7 separate regions of the Homo sapiens genome follow, and regions 1, 2, 3, 4, 6 and 7 are each linked to region 5. Evidence: promoter capture Hi-C in 16 types of primary human blood cells and fetal thymus (Javierre and others, 2016). All regions are on one chromosome and are shown on one strand. The core of a region is centred on a gene start or on the middle of the fragment in contact, and the rest is flanking DNA. Distances in the headings are between cores, read along the strand shown. Region 1 has its middle 3.9 kb from the start of IRAK2. Region 2 holds the start of BRK1 (BRICK1 subunit of SCAR/WAVE actin nucleating complex). Region 3 holds the start of TATDN2 (TatD DNase domain containing 2). Region 4 holds the start of VHL (von Hippel-Lindau tumor suppressor). Region 5 holds the start of TTLL3 (tubulin tyrosine ligase like 3). Region 6 overlaps SETD5 (SET domain containing 5). Region 7 overlaps SETD5 (SET domain containing 5).

Evidence for each region. Contacts are between HindIII fragments. The CHiCAGO score rates a contact against its expected background, and 5 or more counts as called.
Region 1: a fragment that was not itself captured here is called in contact with the fragment with the promoter of TTLL3 in region 5 in 7 of 17 cell types (monocytes, activated CD4 T cells, erythroblasts and 4 more); the score reaches 8.1 in monocytes.
Region 2: a contact is called between the fragment with the promoter of BRK1 here and the fragment with the promoter of TTLL3 in region 5, in 16 of 17 cell types (total CD8 T cells, naive CD8 T cells, activated CD4 T cells and 13 more). The highest score is 18.6, in total CD8 T cells.
Region 3: a fragment that was not itself captured here is called in contact with the fragment with the promoter of TTLL3 in region 5 in 14 of 17 cell types (monocytes, total CD8 T cells, megakaryocytes and 11 more); the score reaches 9.0 in monocytes.
Region 4: the fragment with the promoter of VHL here is called in contact with the fragment with the promoter of TTLL3 in region 5 in 1 of 17 cell types (total CD8 T cells); the score reaches 5.6 in total CD8 T cells.
Region 6: a fragment that was not itself captured here is called in contact with the fragment with the promoter of TTLL3 in region 5 in 1 of 17 cell types (neutrophils); the score reaches 5.5 in neutrophils.
Region 7: a contact is called between a fragment that was not itself captured here and the fragment with the promoter of TTLL3 in region 5, in 1 of 17 cell types (neutrophils). The highest score is 5.1, in neutrophils.

What each region holds. Positions count from the first base shown.
Region 1 is chr3:10,159,523-10,162,510 of GRCh38, reverse strand. No RefSeq gene overlaps it. Among named protein-coding and RNA genes, the nearest start is that of IRAK2, 3.9 kb to the left of the region's middle. The HindIII fragment of the contact is 1,059 bases long and covers 1,035-2,093 here.
Region 2 is chr3:10,114,059-10,117,176 of GRCh38, reverse strand. BRK1 (BRICK1 subunit of SCAR/WAVE actin nucleating complex) reads right to left here and starts at 1,502. Exons shown (of 3, transcript NM_018462.5): 1 at 1,358-1,502. The coding sequence starts at 1,475. RefSeq lists enhancers at 905-954, 1,405-1,694. The HindIII fragment of the contact is 6,229 bases long and covers 1-3,118 here.
Region 3 is chr3:10,247,725-10,250,543 of GRCh38, reverse strand. It overlaps TATDN2 (TatD DNase domain containing 2), which reads right to left and starts at 2,085. Exons shown (of 8, transcript NM_014760.4): 1 at 1,477-2,085; 2 at 930-1,349. The coding sequence starts at 1,343. RefSeq lists an enhancer at 649-1,517 and a silencer at 1,770-2,199. The HindIII fragment of the contact is 1,674 bases long and covers 693-2,366 here.
Region 4 is chr3:10,139,874-10,143,027 of GRCh38, reverse strand. VHL (von Hippel-Lindau tumor suppressor) reads right to left here and starts at 1,250. Exons shown (of 3, transcript NM_000551.4): 1 at 841-1,250. The coding sequence starts at 1,180. It also overlaps the pseudogene LOC124906359. RefSeq lists an enhancer at 1-333. The HindIII fragment of the contact is 16,438 bases long and covers 1-3,154 here.
Region 5 is chr3:9,808,891-9,812,040 of GRCh38, reverse strand. TTLL3 (tubulin tyrosine ligase like 3) reads right to left here and starts at 1,779. Exons shown (of 14, transcript NM_001387446.1): 1 at 1,647-1,779; 2 at 1,332-1,420. The coding sequence starts at 1,379. The region is part of intron 4 of ARPC4-TTLL3 (ARPC4-TTLL3 readthrough); the gene reads right to left. RefSeq lists a silencer at 1,598-2,077 and an enhancer at 2,558-2,707. The HindIII fragment of the contact is 3,571 bases long and covers 421-3,150 here.
Region 6 is chr3:9,437,770-9,440,729 of GRCh38, reverse strand. SETD5 (SET domain containing 5) reads right to left here. Exons shown (of 23, transcript NM_001080517.3): 8 at 32-274. Among named protein-coding and RNA genes, the nearest start is that of SETD5, 42 kb to the right of the region's middle. The HindIII fragment of the contact is 2,514 bases long and covers 186-2,699 here.
Region 7 is chr3:9,464,579-9,467,402 of GRCh38, reverse strand. SETD5 (SET domain containing 5) reads right to left here. Exons shown (of 23, transcript NM_001080517.3): 18 at 2,731-2,824. Among named protein-coding and RNA genes, the nearest start is that of SETD5, 68 kb to the right of the region's middle. The HindIII fragment of the contact is 2,998 bases long and covers 1-2,824 here.

The sequences.
Region 1 (2,988 bases), core at 315-2,814, 350 kb before region 5:
GGTTAGGCGAGGTCACGAAGGGCAGATAAGTAACTAGAGTAGGTACCACTGTATAGCTGTGGCCGTCAGCTATGGAGTAGCGCTGCAAAAGGAGGAAGCTGAAATCAAAGTGAGAAGTCCTAGGGCCAAGTTGCAGTTCTGCCACCAACAGGCTTTGTGACTCTGGACAACTCATTTCATTCGTCAAGCCTTGTTTCCAGCATCTGTAAAGTGGGCCTGCTCCTTCCTACTGCTTAGAGTTGTGAGGGGAGTGGAATAAATCAAATTATGTAGCCTATATAGAACACCTACTACAGGGCTTTCCTCGCACAGAGAATGTGCCCAAAAAATGGTAGCTGTCATTAGTGGTCTTGAAAAGGCACCCACTGGCCTTGGAGTCCTATCAAGTTTGGAGACCTGGTTCAGCCACTCTCCGGCTCTTAGTCCTTTGAGCCAGTTCTGTTTTCCCTTTTGGAAACTGGATCTCCTGCTGCAGCCACTTGGAAGGATTGTTATGAAGCCTAAATGGACTCCAAAACGCTCAAGATCAACTGTGAAGTGCTGAGCCCAGTAAAGGATTACTATTATGTCCTCCTTGATGTTGAAAGTGGGACATATTTCAGTGTTCTGAGACTACTTTTCAAGTGAAGTCCTGTGTTTTCAGCAGTGGCTGAAGGTGGACTTGGGAACTGTAATGATTGTTTGCCATAGGCTGGGTGGAGAAGCATCTCCATCCCAGGCACACGGGGGTAAAAGAGAATAAAGATCCTCTTCTTTTTCTCCTTTTCTCTTTTTGCAGAGTCCCCTACCTGCTTCTCCTTCTCTTCCGCAAGCAGCGTGTGTGTAGAGCTCCTCCCTCAGTGCCACAGGGCCTCTTCCCTGGGGTGAGGCTTTAAGACCACGGAAGTTTCACATTCAGCCTTGGTCAATCCTGGAAGGCAGAGGAGCCCCCACTGCTCTCTCTGCTGCATCCTCAGGCCCTTCCCGCAATTCCTTCTCACCCCAGCCTCAGGGCTTGGGATCTGTGTCCTAGGATTCTGTCTTCCAGAGAAGCTTGAGTCATTTTGGGCCTGAGCAGGTCATCACAGGGACACATCTCAGTTACCACTCTTTAGAATAAGTTCTTCAAAGTAAGGTCTTTGCTATTACTAATGGTTGCCCTTCACCTACCAACTCACCTAGCAGGCATTTAGCATACATTATCTGTAATCCATACAACCCTGCAAAGGTTTATTGTTTCTGTTTTACAGATGAAGAAACTGAGGCTGAAGTCAATTGTAACTGGGCCAAGTTGGCCAAGTGACAGTGAGGTAGGGGGCAGCACTCGACTCGAAAGGAATGGCTGGGACATCGGACCAAATTGAGGACTAGCTAAAACAGGTGTGGTGGGAAGTACCTCGCATAAGACACTGCCACCAGTGTACCTTGTCAGTTTACCATTGCCATGGCGACTCCAAGAAGTCACCGCCCCTTTCTAGAATGTTCTGCATAAACTGCCCCTTAATTTGCATATAATTAAAAGTGTGTATAAATGTGACTGTAGAACTGCCTCTGAGCCACTACTCTGGGCACACTGCCTATGGAGTAGCCCTACCCTGCAAGGAGCAGTACCTCTGCTGCGGCTGCACACTGCTATTTCAATAAAAGGTGCTATTTAACACCACTGGCTGGCCCTGGAATTCCTTTCTGGGTGAAGCTAAGAACCCTCCCAGGCTAAACCCCAATTTGGGGGCTTGCCTGTCCCGCATCAACAGGATGCAACTCAAGTCTGACCCAAAGCAAATGCTCTTTCTGCTGTGTTATACTGCCTCACCACAAGAAATTTCCTCTGATCTTGCAGTTAATTTCTTCCTCTGGCTATTTTCCATGACCAACACCCACCAGGATCAGTTAGAAACAGTTATTGAGGCTGAATGTAATTAATTACACACTTACGTCATTTTGAGCTGTTCAAGTTTAATTCCCTTGAAATTATAGTCAGTGGTTTGCAACCCTGGCTGCACAGTAGAAACATCTGGGGTGCTTTTAAAAAGTATAAATGCCTAGCCCTACCTCCAGGGAGACAGATTCAATTATTCTGGAGTGGGGCTCAGGCACTACTGTTTTTTAAAGCTTCCCAGATAATTCTAATATGTGCTGGCACAGTTGAGAACCAGTCATATCAGAAAGCTGGGGCAGAGGCCAAGCATGGTGGCTCATGCCTGCAATCCCAGCACTTTGGGAGACCGAGGTGGGTGGATCACTTGAGGTCAGGAGTTCGAGACCAGCCCAACCAACACGGCGGAACCCCGTTTCTACTAAAAATACAAAAAAATTCGCTGGGCGTGATGGCACGCACCTGTAATCCCAGCTACTTGGGAGGCTGAGGCAGGAGAATCATTTGAACCCGGGAGGTGGAGACTGCACTGAGCCAAGATCATACCACTGCACTCCAGACTGGGGGACACAGTGAGACTCCATATCAAAAAAAAAAAAAAAAAAAAAAAAAAAGCTGGAGCAGGAGGGAAGACTGATGAAAGGAGAATAATAAAGCTTCTCTATGCACTTTGCATATATTTTTCTTTTTTTTTCTCTCTTTTTGAGACGGAGTTTTGCTCTTGTTGCCCAGGCTGGAGTGCACTGGTGTGATCTTGGCTAACCGCAACCCCTGCCTCCTGGGTTCAAGCAATTCTCCTGCCTCAGCCTCCTGAGTAGCTGGGGTTACAGGCATGTGCCACCACACCCAGCTAATTTTGTATTTTGAGTAGATACGAGGTTTCTCCATGTTGGTCAGGCTGGTCTCAAACTCCTGACCTCAGGTGATCCACCCACCTCGGCCTCCCAAAGTGCTGGGATTACAGGCATGAGCCACCGCGCCCGGCTATATTTTTTTTTAACAAAAATATCTTTATTGGTTTCTCTGATAGCATGTGATATTTGTCAAAGACAGAAAGAAAGAGAAAACAAACACCTTCCCATAACCTCATCCCTGAGGAATCACCATTATTGTTTGGAGTATATACTCCTTTT
Region 2 (3,118 bases), core at 253-2,752, 310 kb before region 5:
CAGGGCTCAAGTGATCCTCCTGTCTCAGCCTCCCGAGTAGCTGGGACAACAGGTGTGCATGACCATGCCCAACTAATTTTTTTGTTGTCGTTGTTTTGTAGAGATAGGATCTGGTCATGTTGCTCAGGCTGGTCTTGAACTCCTGGGCTCAAGCAATCCTCCCACCTTGGCCTCCCAAAGTGCTGGGATTACAGACATAAGCCATTGAACTCAGCCACGATTATAGTCCTAAACACCCTGTATGAAAATACTTTAATACAAAAATGATGCTCTTCTTTGTCCTGAAGTTGTCATTATTTCATCTTCAAGATTAGAACTTCTTTGAATGTAGGAAGTGGTTCTTATTCTGTGTCTCCCACTATGCCTTAAGAGAGGGCCTCATATGGAGCTCTAGCATCTCTCGCTGATGCTTTCTGACAATCTCTTGCTCTGTCACCTTTGTACTCCTAAGGCCATCAGTCCTTTAGTTAGAGAATCATTCATTTAAAAATCTTTCCAAAGTACACTAGTCCCTATATCCTGTAATTACACAAGAAAGTCTAACCAGTGCCAAGTTCTGTTAAACACTTGGAGAAGAAGGGGTAGGAATCTCGATTGCTTTGCTTGCTGTTCATAAGGAAGAATTTAAGGCTGTCACAAGCAGGCCATGCCTAGGAAAGATTCTGGTAAAGATATCTTTCTGCTGAAGGCACCCGACCTGTGTTAGCTCTGAGGAATGGGCTAGAAGCAGACAGAACACCTACCATAAGCTATATATACTAGCAATACAGAGAGGACTTCCAAGGTCCTACAAGATCCTGGCATCCCTCTGACCTCATCTCCCACCACTCTCACCGCAGCAGACACAGGAAACAGGAAGGAATGGACAAGACGGGAGTGGTTGACAACGGGTCCAACTAAAAGGCACGACGCTAGAGGGTATCGACCAGATCCTGAAGATGGGGAACGGTCAACAGTCTTGAAACAGAGGAGTGACACGGTCCCGGATGCTCACTTTGAGTGCAAAGTGGGGACCGGAATGGATGCAGAGTACAAAGGAGGCAGGGAGACCACTTAGGAGAAGAACCACGGAGCGAGGATGGGGCTGCCTGACGCGTCTAGGAGAAGGACTTGTAGAATGGATCCAGAGGGATGGCAGGAAGCCATGAGCTCAGCGTAGGGCAGGATAACCCTACAGAGACTGTCTACGGGAGCCTGAGGGTCAGGGCGGGAGGGAGAAGGTGGGACCTGAAGGAGGAAGTGAAAACCCGCAACAGCCGAAGGCTGCGGGAGTCCTCTCAAAGCATCTCCCCGGCGCCCCAGCCCAACCACCTCAGCGGCCTCCCTCCTCCCCGCCTCCCCTTGCTGGCCCGCTGACCGAACGAGTTGAGAAAGTCTGCGATTTTCTTGATGCTGCTGGTGATTATCTCAATGTACTCCCGGTTAGCCCAGTCCTGGTGAATCTCCCGCTGCACCGGATCCTCCTGTCCCGCCATGGCCGCCGCCTGAGGAAGAGCGACTGCGCAGGCGCCCCGACCCTACAGGCCTCTAGTGCGCCTGCGCTGCCAGGCCACACCCATCCTCTTGAGCACCCACGAATTCTCGGGCACTATGATAGGCCTGTGCAACGTCACGTCCTCGCCGGCGTTTGCTCTCTACTCCCACGCTATAGAACACAGAAGCCTGGACGCCGGCGGCGAGGTTGTAGTGCACGCGCGTTATGGTCGTTACACGGCGCGTGGGGTCTTGCCGTCTCCCTCAACTGCTCCAGGCTCAGGTTGCGCACTCAGTGTCCGCAGTGAGATGGGCACAGTCGATTAAATCACATTAAATACAAGTCTTTTTTTTTTTTAGACGGAGTCTAAAAAATAATATGGTCATAAATAGCTGGGCACACTGCAAACTGGAACAGTCCCTTTCAGAAGGAAATTTGTGTTTTTGTGTTGTTTTTTGAGACAAGGTTTTTTCTTGTTTTTTGTTTTTTTGAGACGGAGTCTTGCTCTGTCGCCCAGGCTGGAGTGCAGTGGTGTGATCTCGGCTCACTGCAACCTCCGCCTCCCAGGTTCAAGCTATTCTCCTGCCTCAACCTCCCGAGTAGCTGGAATTACAGGCGCACACCACCACGCCCGGCTAATTTTTTTGTATTTTTAGTTGAGATGGTGTTTCACCATGTTGGCCAGACTGGTCTCGAACTCCTGACTTCAGGCAATCCGCCCGCCTCGGCCTCCCAAAGTGCTGGGATTACAGGTGTGAGCCACCTCGCCCAGCCTGAGACAAGGTCTTACTGTCGCCCAGGCTGGAATGCAATGGCATGATCATGGCTCACTGCAGCCTCGAACTCCTGGGCTTGAACTCCTGGGCTCAAGCTATCCTCCAGCCTCAGCCTCTGGTGTAGTTGGGACTACAGGCTCACGTCACCACGCCTGGCTAATTTGTGTATTTTTTGTAGACACGGGGTTTCACCATGTTGGCCAGGCTGGTCTCGAACTGACAGGTGATCTACCCACCTCGGCCTCCCAAAGTGCTGGGATTATACGCATGAGCCACCATGCCCGGCCTATTATGCAGTCATTTAAATGCTAATTATGAACACAAGCAACATGAAAACACATACAATAAATTGAGGGGAAAAACAAAATACCCTCCCTCCCTCCCTTCCTTCCTTCCTTTTCTTACTTTTTTTTTTTAAGACAGAGTTTCTCTGTTAATGCCCAGACTGGAGTGCAATGGCACGATCTTGGCTCACTGTGACCTCTGCCTCCCGGGTTCAAGTGATTCTCCTGCCTCAGCCTCCCAAGTAGCTGGGATTACAGGTGCCCGCTACCACACCTGGCTATTTTTTGTATTTTTTAGTAGAGACGGGGTTTCAGCATGTTGGTCAGGCTGGTCTCCAACTCCTGACCTCAAGTGATCTGCCCACCTCGGCCTCCCAAAGTGCTGGGATTACAGACATGAGCCACCCTGCCTGGCCCACATTTTTCTTTAATTGCAACTATGGAAAAATGTATGTTTGAGGACAAGAAGGATCTACAAAAAAAGTCACTATCTGCTTTGCTAAGGTAGTGGAATATGAACAACTTTATTCTCATTTCAGGGAATACTTACAATCTGGCATGCAGTAAATGCTCTTTTTTTTGAG
Region 3 (2,819 bases), core at 280-2,779, 440 kb before region 5:
TGTTTTAATTGCTTTTGTAAAGTAATTTTCTCTAGAGGCAGCCCATCTGATCCCAAATAAGACTGTTTCTCCACTCCTCCACAGGCAGAACTTCTCACTTCTTAAGACTCAGACCTTCAAAATCTAGGATGCAAACTCTAAGGGGAAAGTGATCTGTTTTGTTAGTAAAGAATCCCAAACACCTAGAACATTGCCTGGCACAAACTAAACCCTCAACACATATTTGTTCAAAGCCTTGATTGAGTAGATGAGCGAAATGTATCTTCTCTGTGAAGCACTCCTTGGTCTGCTCAAAGTACTTATGAAACCCTCTTGCATGTTTCCATTAGGGAATTAACAATTTAACCTCCAAAAAAAAAAGAAAAAAAAAAAAAACTAGCACCACCAAGCAAAACCCCAACATGCTGGAAACTATGACTTTGGAGAAAAGCTACACCAAGAACCGCAATTCTTGGTTCTGTGATTCAGAGTGGTTCAAAGTACAAGGGCACACAATTCTTTAAACTGACAACTAAAATAAATACATTCTTCTCTTGAGCACATAATCCACCTTCTACTGCAGTGATTCTCCAACGGGGCTGCACGTTTACAATAACCTGGGGAGCACTGAAAAATCTGGAAGCCCAGACCACACCTCAGCCCAATAAATCAGTTTCTCTGGAGTAGGAGGCAGGCCCAAGTATTTTAAAGCTTTCCAAGTAGTTCCAAAGTGCTGCCGAGTTTGAAAATTACCTCTCTACTTAACTTCAGGCCACGCGCCTGGAAGACTGCTAGGTCTTCGAGTTTGGGGGGAGTGGACTTCTAGAAAGACCTTCCAGACCTTCAAGGATGTAATGTTTTGTAGTCTCCTTCCACCAAAATTCCCATCCCCAACCTCTCAAGCCATGTGGAAGGGGCTTCACCGATTGCAAAGCGTGGCAGCCACCTACCTTAAGGCTGCAGGCTTCCTCCTCTAGAGAAGCCATTTCTTCCAAAGAGGCGTTGGCAGGACGCAGAGGGGATCCCCCTGAAGACAGGAACCCCCGAGTGTTCCGAATCAGGCAGCCTTTGGAGGCGGCCCCGCCCACACCAGGGCCCAAGAAATGTGGGGAGAAGGAGGAGGAGGAGTTATTTCTGCGGCGGGATGAGCCCCAGGATAACCTCCGCGAGCAAGCCACATCGTCCTCCTTCTGGGCTTTCAGGCGCTTGGGGCTGCTGGGCCCTCCAGAACGCGACGCAGACCTCTGAGCTGGCCGGCTGGAGGGGGCCACATCACAGGGCTCCCGGAGGCAGCTGCGCTTGCGGGGACACCCTTCCGACGTGCTGCTCCAGTTGTGCTTGACCTTGCCCCGCTCGGACGCCATGGGCACCTGCAAGGTACAGGGGGCCTGGATTCCAACACCACCCTTCCTGGCGACCCCACCTCAGATTCCCGCCACCCCGGGCCCAGGAGGACGGCAAGACATAAGGGCAGAGCCAGGGGCTAGCCTCACTGACCTTTCCCTCTTCTTTCCACTGCCCATCACAGTTCTCAAGGTTTCAGAGATGCCAAACCGTGTTGGAGAAGTCAAAGCGATCCAAAATTGACTAAAGGCTGCCGTCGGTTTCCAAGCCCACAACGTGCTTCTGAGATCAGGAAGCCTTCACTTTGCCCAGCGCTACTTCGGAGATGCCTAAGCGCTTCCGGGGCTACGAAGCGCTTTGATCAGTTTGCAATATAAAGCCCTTTAGAACTGTCAAGCGCTTCAGAAGACCACATGGCGCTTCAAGATCCACACATGGCTGCCGGATCCGCGGCCCCGGGGCCGGGCGCTTAGCCCGTAGGCCAGGGCCAGACCCGGGCGCCGCAGCCCGCCCTGCTCCTGCGGCCCAACCAGACCCGGGCCGGAAGGGGCCCGAGCGGCCCCTCGGGAGCTGGCAGCGCCCTCGACCGCCAACTCAGGACGCCCCCCGCCGGCTGCCGCAGCTGTCCCGCCGGGCAGCCCGCCGCCTGCCCCAGCCCTACAGCCCCGCCTGGCCCGGCCTCCGCCCGAACTGCGACCACTCCGGCCTCCGTGGCGCCCGCCCTCCGGAACGAGCCCTGCGGCCCGCAGGCCGGAGAGCGACAGGGGCGGGGCCTGCGCCAAACGGAAGGCGCCCATTGCTCGACCCGGCAAGGGGCGGGACTCCGAGCAAGACGCAGCCCGCCTCAAAGCCAGGCGCCTTGGAGTCGGGACGGTACGCCTTAGGAAGCTCGTCCATTGGTCAGAAGCCAGATGGGGCGGAGCCACTCACGTGGGCTCGAACAGCGGGAAGTTGAGGCCAGCCAGATGTGCAGGCAGGTGGTGTCCGCTGACGCGCCTCACTTAACGCTGTTTTCCTCAGCGCCGGCCGCTGTACCTGAAGCTTTCAGACCTGGATTTCTCATCGAGCCAAAGCAAACCGTGTACTGAGCATTATCACCCCACTTTATAGAGCAGAAAACTGTGGCTCAGAGAGACTAAGTACACACCCAGAAATGGGAAGAATTAGAATTAGAAGGCACCAAAAAAAAAAAAAAAAAGACTACACAAAAATGTGAACTATCCGCCTGGTGAAAAATATTAAAGACGGCTGGGCACGGTGTCTCACGCCTGCAATCTCAGCACTTTGGAAGACCGAGGCGGGAGGATGGCTTGAGCTCGGGAGTTAGAGACCAGCCTGGCCAGCATGGTGCGACCCCCATCTCTACAAAAAATAAAATTAGCTGGGCGTGATGCCAGCTACTCAGGCTGAGGTGGGAGGATCACTTGAGGCCGGGAGGTCGAGGCTGCAGTGAGCTGTGATCCCGCCACTGCACTCCAGCCTGGAGGACAGAGCAA
Region 4 (3,154 bases), core at 1-2,500, 330 kb before region 5:
TCTTACCTAGGGTTGGCTAGTTCCTACTCCATCCTGCTCTCTTCCTTCTCCGGGAAGTGCTCCTTAACTGAAACCACACAACCGCAACCCCTCCATCTCCCAGCAGGCAGGTAAGTCAATTTCCCACGCCACACACGGTCGGCTCTTCCGGCGCCAACATGACCCTGGCTTGTTCCTGTCTTTGCATCTGTCAGTCTCCCCAGGAGGAATGTGTTCTCCACGAGGGCAGGGACTACGCAGAACTGGCCCACTGGAGTCATGAGGACTGAACAGATGGGGTGTTAAGGATGCAGCTTTTCTTTGAGGGGAAAATACACGTGGGGTGGGGGACTGGGGGGAGCCACCTTCAAATGCAAACTATTCGGCCTTATAAAGAATGCTCTGGGCCGGGCGCGGAGGCTCATGCCCATAAGCCCAGCACTTTGGGAGGCCGAGGCGGGCGGATCACGAGGTCAGCAGTTCGAGACCAGCCTGACCAACATGGTGAAACCCCGTCTCTACTAAAAATATAAAAATCAGCCGGGCGCGGTGGCGCACGCCTGTAATCCCAGCTACTCAGGAGGCTGAGGCAGGAGAATCGCTTGAACCCGGGAGGCGGAGGCTGCAGTGAGTCGAGATCGCGCCACTGCACTCCAGCCTGGGCGACAGAGCGAGACTCCGTCTCAGAAAAAAAAAAAAAAAAAAAAGAATGCTCTGACGCTTACGAGCAGCGTCACCCTGGATGTGTCCTGCCTCAAGGGGCCTCAGTTCCCCGTCTGCAAAATGGACCCCGGGGCGGTAGAGGGGCTTCAGACCGTGCTATCGTCCCTGCTGGGTCGGGCCTAAGCGCCGGGCCCGTACCTCGGTAGCTGTGGATGCGGCGGCCCGTGCCAGGCGGCAGCGTTGGGTAGGGCTGCGGCTCGCCGTCGAAGTTGAGCCATACGGGCAGCACGACGCGCGGACTGCGATTGCAGAAGATGACCTGGGAGGGCTCGCGCGAGTTCACCGAGCGCAGCACGGGCCGCGGCCGCCCGGCCTCCATCTCCTCCTCGGCGCCCAGTTCCTCCGGGCCGGACTCTTCCGGGCCGGACTCCTCGGCGCCCGACTCCTCCCCGCCGTCTTCTTCAGGGCCGTACTCTTCGACGCCTGCCTCCTCCGCGCCTACCTCGGCCTCGTCCCAGTTCTCCGCCCTCCGGGGCATTCCCTCCGCGATCCAGACCACCCGGGCCGGACGCCGCGGGATCCGCGGGTCGGACGCGGGGCGGAGCTGCGTGCGCGCTCCCGAGTCGACCTCCGTAGTCTTCGCGCGCGCTCGGTAGAGGATGGAACGCGCTCGCGGAAATAGCCGGCCGGAGGCTGTGCGCGTGCGCAGAAGGATCCTCCAGCACCGTAGGCCGTTGTAACGGAGGCGAGGCTAGGCCAACTCGTTACTGTATTTCCACTATAAAATTTTTTTTCGCCCCTCTAAGGTTTGGTGTTTTTTTTTTTTTTGAGACAGGGTCTCACTCTGTCGCCCGGGCTGGAGTGCAGTGGCGCGAGCTTGGCTCACTGCAGCCTTGACCTCCCTGGCTCAAGCGATCGTCTCGCCTCAGCCTCCCGAGTAGTTGGTACTGTAGGCGCGCACCACCATGCCCGACTAATTATTTTTATTTGTTGTTTGAAACGGAGTCTCGCTATGTTGCCTAGGCTGGTCTCGAACTCCTGGGTTCAAGTGATCCTCCTGCCTTGGCCTCTCAAAGTGCAGGGATTACAGGCCTTAGCCACTGTGCCTGGTGGACTAACTGAATTTTTTTTTTCTTCATGTCAGACGCGCAATGTGCCGACGTCGTAACAAGGTTCGAGGGTGGCGCATCTCACACGGGAACACCCAATCATCACGCTTATAAAGTACAAAAAGTCAACTAACTGAATTCTTACAAGGCATGGGTGATTAGTAAAGAGGGAAAAATAATTAGACCTACTATGTGCAGAGCACTCTGGTGGAAATTGGAAAATCAGATATTTACTTCAGAGCAATTAAAACTACAAACATAAACACTCATTAACTTTGTTCATTTTACAAATATTTATTAAGGCCCTACTATGTACCACCTATGGTGATAAGTGTTGAAAATATTGTAAAAACCGGTCATGTTTCCTGCCTTCACTGCACTTCAATAAAAGCGTCATACGGTAATCAATCACACAAATAAAATAGCAACTATGGCCGGGTGCAGTGGCTCATGCCTGTAATCCCAGTACTTTGGGAGGCTGAAGTGGGCTGATCACAAGGTCAGGAGTTCTAGACCAGCCTGACAACATGGTGAAACCTCGTCTCTACTAAAAATACAAAAATTAGCCTGGCGTGGTGGTGCGCGCATGTAATCCCAGCTACTTAGGAGGCTGAGGCAGGAGAATTGCTTGAACCCGGGAGGCGGAGGTTGCAGTGAGCTGAGATTGTGCTACTGCACTGCAGCCTGGGTGACAGAATGAGACTCTGTCTCAAAAAAAAAAAAAAAAAAAGTGCAACTGTGACTAGTACGACAAAAAGAGACAGGGTACTATAGAAGGCTAAAGATCTGGGGGTCAAGGAAGATGGTACACAATTCTGTGTAATTAAATGTTCAATGATGTGGGATGGACTCAAGTGGAGAAGCAGCTCAGAAAAAGAAGGGTTCAGAGAGTTTTATATTAGTTAAAAATAATTTTTTTTTAGACAGTCTCGCTTTATCACCCAGGCTGGAGTGCAGTGGCTCAGTCTCAGCTCACTGCAACCTCCATCTGCCGAGTTCAAGTGATTATCGTGCCTCAGCCTCTGGAGTAGCTGGGATTACAGGTGTGTGCCACCACACCCAGGTAATTTTTGTACTTTTAGTAGAGACGGGGTTTCACCATGTTTGCCAGGCTGGTCTTGAACTCCTCACCTCAGGTAATCTGCCTGCCTTGGTTTTCCCAAGTGCTGGGATTACAGGTGTGAGCCACCGTGCCCAGCTCAAAAATAAATTTCAAGTAGAAAGAAAAAAATCTATCAAGTGCCAGACACTGTGCTAAGCATCCCACGTGAATTAAGGCTATGTCATTATCTCCATTTCACAGCTAAGGAAACAGAAGGGTATATAAGAATGTGAAGGCCTAGCACTATACGCCTGTAATCCCGAGATTTTGGGAGCCCAAGGCAGGTGGATCACTTGAGTTC
Region 5 (3,150 bases), core at 530-3,029:
AAACAGAGGCATAGAGAAATTAAGCAGGGTGCCTGAGGCCCCATAGTGGTTAAGCAAAAGAGCAGGGATTTACATCCTGGCAGTTTGGCTCCAGAAACTGCATACTTAATGGGATCCAGAGAAACTACTTAGAAATACATGGTCAGGGAAGGTTGAAAGGAAGCCATGAATGTACAGAGCTGGGAAATGGCGGTTCAGGCAGAGGGGAATGCATGTGCAAAGGCCTTGAGGCTGGAGAGAGGTCAGAAGGAACTGAAGGGAGACCAGAGTGAGTGGAACATGGAAAATGATGGGGAAAGCCCCAGAGGAGGTAGGCAGTGGCCAGACTGTGGAAGGCCCTGCAGGCCTTGGAACGGACTTGGATTTCATACTAAGAGTGTCATGAGCAAAAAAGGCTAACTGAGGGAATCTTTCTAAGCTTGGCTTGCTGCTGTATTACAAAAAGATGAGGGGACAGGATGGAGGTAGACCAGCTAGGAGGCTGTCATAGTTTGCCTAGGAGAGAAATCACAATTACTAAAATGAAGGTGGTTACAACACAGACGGGAGAAGGTGCTAGAGTTGAGAATCGTTTTGGAGGTGGAGATGACAAGTGGTTTTGCTGATGGAATTAGACCTGTGGGTGAAGAAACAGAAAGATGAGATTTCTGGCGTGAGGAACTGAGAGATGGGAAAGACTGGAGACTGGGGAGGACGACAGGTTTGGGCAGGAAGATCAAAGTCTGGTTTGGGACATGAATTTGAAATGCTTGTTAAGTTTTCTGGGTGTAGATGACAGGTAGGGGCTAGATCTACGGGATGTGGAGTTCGAGGCTGGGCTGGAAGGGGCACGGAGAGGGTGCAGCACACTGACTGGACTCAGCCAAGGACACAGCCAAAGGAGACAGACCTGGGGAAGGGGCCAGGGGGCCACTAATGGCTGAGGAACCTTTAAAGGCCGCTGAAAAGCAGCAGCCAAAGAGGGAGAAAGGAAAACTAGGAGCGTGCAGTCAGACAGCCAAGAGGAAGGGTGTGTGGGGCAGCGGTGTCGAAAGATACAGGGTGCCCAACCGAGATCAAGACCGAAAGGCACTGCTGGGTTTGGCTCCCTGGAACTCACCAGGCACCTTGATTAGAGTGGGACATCGCAGGGAACCAGAGTGGAGGGAGCCCAGAAGTTTGGTGCTGAAGGGGTAAACGGGGAGGTAGTTGAAGATGGGTGTGGTGGTTGAGGATTTTTGCTATTGTTTTTTCTTTTGCTTTTGTTTTTTAAGGATATAAGAAAACAGCGCAGGGAGACAGGCTGAGCCGCTCCCAGGGCCCTTTCTAAGCGCCCCTGCCCCTCCTCTGACCTTGACAGCTCTCTCCACGTAGATTTTGGCGTTTCTGAGCCGGTTCATGTGAGACGCCTTGGAGGATCCTCGCCAGAGGACCGGGAAACCTGCAGAAAGATGCGGAATAGGGGCGGGGTACACTGAGGCTGGGCCTAGGGTCTCGGCCTAGGATCTTTTCTGGCCGCCCATAGCCACGCCTCTTTTCTTCCTCCTGCCTTCATCCAGATGCCCACCCTCAGCCGCTCTTCTCCCGACCCCCAGTCCCTCCACCCCAGCGTCTTGTCGTCCTCGCAGCCGCTGTAGGCCAGAGCGAGCGGGCCGCACGGGCCTCACCATCCTGCGGAGAGGGGTCGAGGACCGGGGTGTGCGGGGGGCCGAGGGGGTGGGTATCCGAGGCGCCCTGGGCGTGGGTGCCTGGGACCAGCGTCTTGAAGGCGCCGCTGAGGCGGCGCGCAGGGGCGGGGCTGCCCGCCTGGCATCTGCCGCCTGCGTGACCCTCCTCGGACTGGGCGGAGGCAGGGCCGGCCCATGGCAGCCTCCTGGGTGGACGGAACTCGGAGCGGCGCGCCGAGGGGAAACTGGTGCGTGGCTCGAGCGGCTGCGGCTTCCGCAGCCAGTTGCACACCGCGCCGCCCTCCTGGCGGTACCAGGAGGCCGAGCCCCGGCGCCCGGGCCCCAGCTCCCTCGCGCTCAGGAGCAGTGGCGCGTCGGGGCCCTGCATGCGCCCCTCGCCGCGCTCGCCCTCCCAGGGCCCCTGATCCCGCGCCCCTCCGCGTCGCCGCCTCCTCTCCCGGGAAGTTCCTGCCTAGGCTCGAGCCTTGTCCTCCGTTCCAAGCCCCGCCCCGTTTGCTATTGCCTTGGAAACCATTCCCTGGGCACCATCAGACCGCTCGGGGCTGGTTGGGGGCTGCGATGGGCCCCGGGGCAGTCGAGCGAGGGCTTCCTTATGACCTGGGGCCTCACCCAGACCCTTGATGAGCAGGGCACTGAAGGCGGAAGAGAGCACTGAGCCCCAGTTAGTTAGTGTTGCGGTTCCTTATCCAGTACTTCCTGGTGCCACCGGCCCTAGGGTTTGAGTGATTCCACAGTATTTATAGGCGCTAACAAATGGCCCCTGACCTCATGGAGCTTACTAAAAGCCCAGTGTGAGGGGAATAAAAAGCAAGTAACAAAGGAAGAGAATAGTTTACAGGTATAATAAGGGCAATGAACAAGCAGAGGTGAAACCAGGAAGGGGGCGCATTTTAGATAAAGTGGCGCATTTAAGCTGAAGGTGTAAATGCCAGGAGTCAGGAGTCACCAGGGAAAGGGGAGGAACTGCACTTCAGGGAAGGGACAGTCCCAGCAACAGCCCTGAGAAGGGTAAGAACCTCTGTGCGAACTACAAGACAGCCAGGGTGGCTGGAGCCTGGTGAGGCCAGATCAGACCTGCTGGGCCTGGCAGATGGGCCTAGGGTAAGGTCCTTAGCGAGGGCAGCATATGGGGGTAACAAGAAGGTGCAGAGCACACCCTCCCCAGAAACTGGAAATGGAAAAACAATCATTTGAGTCAACTGCGAAAGAAATGTAATAGTTCACAACAGTTATGCCTGGCCCCCAGGCTAAGACTGTAAGCAACCTTTTTGGAAGCACTGGCAAAATATTATCCTCAAAAGTCACAGGGGAGGTAAGGCTCCAAGATGTTAAACAATTTGCCTCAAATCACAGAGCAGAGGCAGCACTGGAACCCAGGTCTGACTCCAAAGCCTGTCTCTTAAACACCTGTTATCACTCAGGTTGCCTGCCAGTCACAGAAGGACCACACAGGGACAGTTTGAGAGGCAAACTCTAGCAGTGC
Region 6 (2,960 bases), core at 193-2,692, 370 kb after region 5:
CTTAGAGAGTCCTCAACCCTTTGGTGCTTACCTGCATTTGGGAACCAATAACTGTGTTATTACAGGCCAATTCAGTCTTATTAATAGTGTCTAAAATAGTAGGTTTGCCCACAAATTCCTTGCTAGAATGTAGGTGTTGTTCAAGCGCGTTCTGTACATCTGCACTGTACTGATTAGTGAAAGCTTCTTCATACTGGTCAGTCCATAGTCTTATCCGATTTTCCCAGCCCTCAGTTGTATTCTCATCTAAATTCTGTGCTTCAGAGGGAGAATTCTGTAGAAAACAAATTCAGGGAGGTTAGTAAAGTCCATGCATAAATAGAGGGTTGGGAATGGGGGTGGGACAAGCTGGGGTTCCAGAGAAAATTTATCACTTGGCAATTGATGTGGCATAAAAGAGTAATGGACTGGGAGTCAGAGGATCTGGTTTCTATCATGCTTTTGTTACCAATGAGAGGTGAGACCTTGAATAACTTCTTTAAATGGGGAAGCTCAGTTTCTCCATTTATAAAGTAAGAAATTAATCTGGATCATAGTTTCATCCCATCACTGTGATTTTATGACCATTTTAAAGTCATAAAAATCAATTTTCTAATCAAAGGACTGACATCAAGTTCATAAGAAAATCTTCATACAAATGAACAGTAGAGACCTCAAATTTATCACTGCTTAAATTTTTCATACTCACTGAATATCTGTGTTAAGTGTTAGCCCAAACTGGTTTTTTGACTATTCTCCAGGAGAATGCATGTTTTTGTATCACTTATTATTTTCATAATACATGTTCATTCTAAACCTAGATGTGATCTTAATCAATCAATCTCATTAATCCAATCCCAATCTTACTACCCATATAAAAAGTTATTATTTGAGTATATCTTTCTAACACTCTATTTTCAACAATTTAAATTACCACATTCTAAATAATCTGAAGAGGTGAAGTGAGGGGAGAGGAGTAGGTAGGGAGAATATAGAAAATGTCTAGGAGGTACTTTGCTATACTCCTCTAGGAAAACCATTGCCCTCTATGGTGACAGTATTGAGAAAAGATTACTACAACTCAGGAACAGCTTCCTAGGCAGACAGTGCCTGAGCTACAGAGACAAAGCATAAGCCCAATACATGTTCTCCTCCACGGTGTTCAAGACTTAAGTGCCATCAGAAAACAAAACAAACACTGACAGTGATGATGTCATGCTAGTGATGATTAGAAGGAAAAGACACTGTAGTACCAAAGCTACTTGAAAATCCATGTCCACATTAAACTTGCAAACAGGTACAATAAAATTAAATATACTTTCTATGAATGGCACAGAAAACACTGATGCTTATCATAACACTTTCTTTTACCACTTTTGCATCACTGTTGCTGACTGATTATTGTCTACTATCCTTTCTGCAAGGAACAGGAGTATAGAAGAAAAAAAATCAACACTATTGTCTCCACATTTCTTACTAGAGTCCAAAAGACTGAACAATAAACAAAGGGATCTAAAGAAACACCTAAAGCCAACATACTGACAATCAGAGTATCGCCTGCTTGACATCAGTAGCAGTTGCGCAAAAGAATAGTGCAAAACCTTAGGCTTAATGGAGCTTACAGACTAGGGGGACTGGCAGTGTCCAAACAATATTCCCAGCTTTAAGTGGCAATTGTTAAACTTACACTTGATAAGTGTACTGTATTCTGGAAGCCTCTGTCACAGTATTAGCCATTGTTCGCTAATCTCACTGTGTGTTTACTCTGCTGTCCCATCCTTCAAGGCATTAGAGACTCTACCTCAGTTGGGTTTAGAGTAGTGGTTCTCAATTGAGGGAAATTTTGCACCCAGGTGACATTTGGTAATATCTGAAGACATTTTTGATAATCTCAACTGAGTGTATGAGTGTTACCGGCATCTAGTGGGTAGACACCAGGGATCCTGTTCACATCTTGAAAGCACAGAACAGTCCCTTCCACAACAAAGAATTATCTGGTCCAAACTGTCAACAGTGTCAAGACTGAGAAACCCTGATTTACAATTAAGTCTTCAGTAGGGAAGCTGCTCTTGACACTGGGATTAAAAATCCAAATGATAATTTTTTCTAATTCTTATGGCTCCCACCTGGATCACTGGAGGAGTTTTAAACTAGTAATTCTGAGCATAAAATTTATAACTCAATTTAGAATTAAAAGAATCAAAATGACTAGTAATTTTTTTTTCTAAATTTTAACACACCTGTGAGGCTGTCAACCTCCCAAAACTGTAAGCAAAATATGGGGTTTATGTGCAGTTTTCTGGTAGAGCCAGTTTATAGCTTTTGAAAGGTTTCGAGCTTCTGGAGATAAGTTATGATAGTTGCTTGATAAGAGAAAAGCATTTAGTAGCCAGGATTAGGGCTATTATCTGCCTCCAAAGTCTATTTAAAAGGCCCCTCTCTAAGCAAATGAGACAAAAATAAAGGGGAAGCTAAAGCAAACTTGGCCACTTGCAAGAGACGGATCCAGCAAAGGCATGATTGATTTGTCTTCCAAGACACATCCCAGGCCTCTGATGCTCTGTAGCTCTGAGTCCTCTCCCAACTCTTTCACAGGTATGTGCAAGTCTGTTTAAAGATAGATACTAAGTGGGGCCTTCAAACTTTAGGTAAAGTGCTACCTGTAATCTTTGCTAACACCAGTCACACTGGTGCTGCACATAAAGCAATCCTAAAAAGCTTATCCTTACTGAATTTTTTTTTTTTTTTGAGATGGAGTCTTGCTCTGTTGCCCAGGCTGGAGTGCAGTGGCGTGATCTCGGCTCACTACAACCACTGCCTCCTGGGTTCAAGCGATTCTCCTGCCTCAGCCTCCCAAGCAGCTGGGACTACAGGTGCCTGCCACCACGCCTGGCTAATTTTGGTATTTTTAGTAGAGATGGGGTTTCACCATGTTGGCCAGGCTGGTCTTGAATTCCTGACCTCAGGTGATCCACTTGCCT
Region 7 (2,824 bases), core at 247-2,746, 340 kb after region 5:
CCTCCCAATGTTGCTTCCACTCTTCTTTCTAGATGCTTTCCCCTCCTGAAGATCTTGTTCTCTTCCACTGTTTATCTTCTTACCTTCTTCCCCTTAGCACTTAAGACTTCTCACCATTTTCCTGAATGCTTTTTTCCTTCTCAAAAATATCCTTCCCCAAACTAATCTAGTAAGGTTGTTTTTTTTTTTTTTTTTTTTTTTTTGAGAGAGAGTCTCCCTCTGTTGCCCAGGCTGGAATGTGGAATGCAGTGGCGCAGTCTTGGCTCCCTGCAACCTCCCAGGCTCAAGCAATTCCTTTGCCTTGGCCTCCCGAGTAGCTGGGATTACAGGTGTGTGCCACTGTACCTGGCCTAAGCTGGTCTTTAAATTATTTTTAGAGATGGGATCTCACTGTTGCCCAGGCTGGCATGTAGTGGCACAATAATGGCTCACTGCAGTCTTAAACTCCTGGTCTTAAGTGATCTTCCTGCTTCAGCCTCCCAAGTAGCTGGGACTACAGGTATATGCCACTACACCTGGCTAAGTTTTGTATTTTATTTTTGCAGAAATGTGGTCTCACGATGTTACCCAGGCTGGTCTCAAACCCCTGGCCTCAAGCAATCCTCCTGCCTCAGCCTTCCAAAGCACTGTGATTACAGGTGTGAGCCACCATGCCCAGCCTAAGCTGGTCTTTATACGTGACACCTTTTTGATATTTCACAATGTGTCACAGCCTTTGCTACAAAAAAGGCTCCCCACCTCTCTGTACTAGAATACAGCAAAGAGTATGGCCATTAAAATGGTGATTAGAATGGGTCAGGGTGGTGAAATCTGTTCTATTATTGATGAGAAAGGTAAAATTTCCTTAAATTGCAAGTGAAACCATGCCTTGGACCTTTTACTATTTAATATTTTCCTTCCCTCCTGGTATTCTAACATTATGCATGGACTGTATTATTAAAATGATCACCAATTAAAAAAAACAAAACAAAACAAAACCAAAACCACTTTATATTTGCAGTGTTTAATAGTTATCCCAAATGCTACAAGGGATAAGGAACACACTGAGTACTGAACCCGCTTGTTTTGCAAAGTGACTTACCTTCTGATTTTCTTTTTTTTTTTTTTTTTTTTTTGAGACGGAGTCTTGCTCTGTTGCCCAGGCTGGAGTGCAATGGCGCGATCTCGGCTCACTGCAAGCTCCGCCTCCCGGGTTCACGCCATTCTCCTGCCTCAGCCTCCCGAGTAGCTGGGACTACAGGCGCCCACTACCACGCCCGGCTAATATTTTGTATTTTTAGTAGAGACGGGGTTTCACCACGTTAGCCAGGATGGTCTTGATCTACTGACCTCGTGATCCGCCTGCCTCAGCCTCCCAAAGTGATGGGATTATAGGTGTGAGCCACTGCGCCCGGCCTCCTTCTAATTTTCATAATTCCACATTTATAATAAAACCTGTATTGATAAAGTATGACACTCTATTCCTATAATCTTATGCCCTCCAGGGAGAATTCCTCTCATGATACCTTACTATAAAGCTCTAGGTGCAAACTGCAAAGTCAATTGCAAGTAGACAAAGTCAAGTTAGAAAGGCCTGAATCAGCTGCTTTATTATCTGGCTGAAAGAATTTCATAAATAATCTGGTAAAGAGTAATTTCCCTAGATAACTGATATGTAACCAGGAGGTTTTTTCCCTCACCCAGAAAGAGGTCTGCTCCAAAAGTAGAGGTCTAGGGTAAGAAAGAATACAGTTCTGCTTTCAATGTTGCTAGCTGCCTCTTAGTTACTCATAAAAGCTAAGTATTCTGAATCCTCATACTTGGAAAAGCTGAATAGGAAACGTAAGATTGGTTAAAATGTTCACCTTTCTCAAAAAACACATCTGGAGAAGTGCAAACAAGGGGGCAGAGCAGCAGAGTGTGTTTAGTGGTCAGAACAAATTTTTCTGAGAAGGAAAAAAGAGACAGTGTCCATTTTAATTACAAATCAAAGTAACATGCAATAGATGAAGTGTTTTAAAAAAGTATACATGGATTCTATTGAAACCTGCTGTCACCCAAACCTGAACACTAAAGTGATTCAAGATTACTTTTTGAAACAGCTGAGGCAGACATTTCTAACTTAATCCAACAGTGAAGGTAATAAATTTGTCTCATGAATACATGTTGCTAGCCTCTTGTCTACTTCTGATTCCTAAGACATTATAACAAAGAGGGAAAGTAACCTGGAGTGGAAAAAACCCACATTCGCCATAAGCCATACCCCAATGTTTTCTAAATCTCTGCTAAGGCCACAATGAAAATACCAAACAACCTGGGAAAGACACTTCACTTATTTAAAGGCCTAGAAACGAAGACACAATCAATCAATATCATCTGTGCTCTCAGGCTAGTGTTACTAACAGATACTACAGGCAGCTAGAGGCCTATTTTGACCAAAGTATACAGTAAAGATAACGATGGAGATCTAGCATGCTTACTACCTAAACTTATGGAGATTGATGGACTGCATGCAAAAGATACATGAATGGGATTTGTGGTAGCAGTATGCCTATTTTGGGAAGCATAGGGGCTGCCAAGATGAGAGGCTACCAGGTAACAGGCCACAATGACCCTGAGGTTTCCCATTCTCTTACTGAGATGGGGAAGAAAGATAGTAAAGAAACATTTGGAATGGTATTATATTTGAAATGAGAAGGTACAAATGATGATTTTCATATCCAGCACTCCCAGCAACCAAACCCAAATCACCTCAAACTGTAGAGGAGTGTTGCAGCGACTAGCAGTAGTAAGAGATGTGACTGGTGAAAACATGAGGCTGTATCCATTTCGACACTCCTCTTCT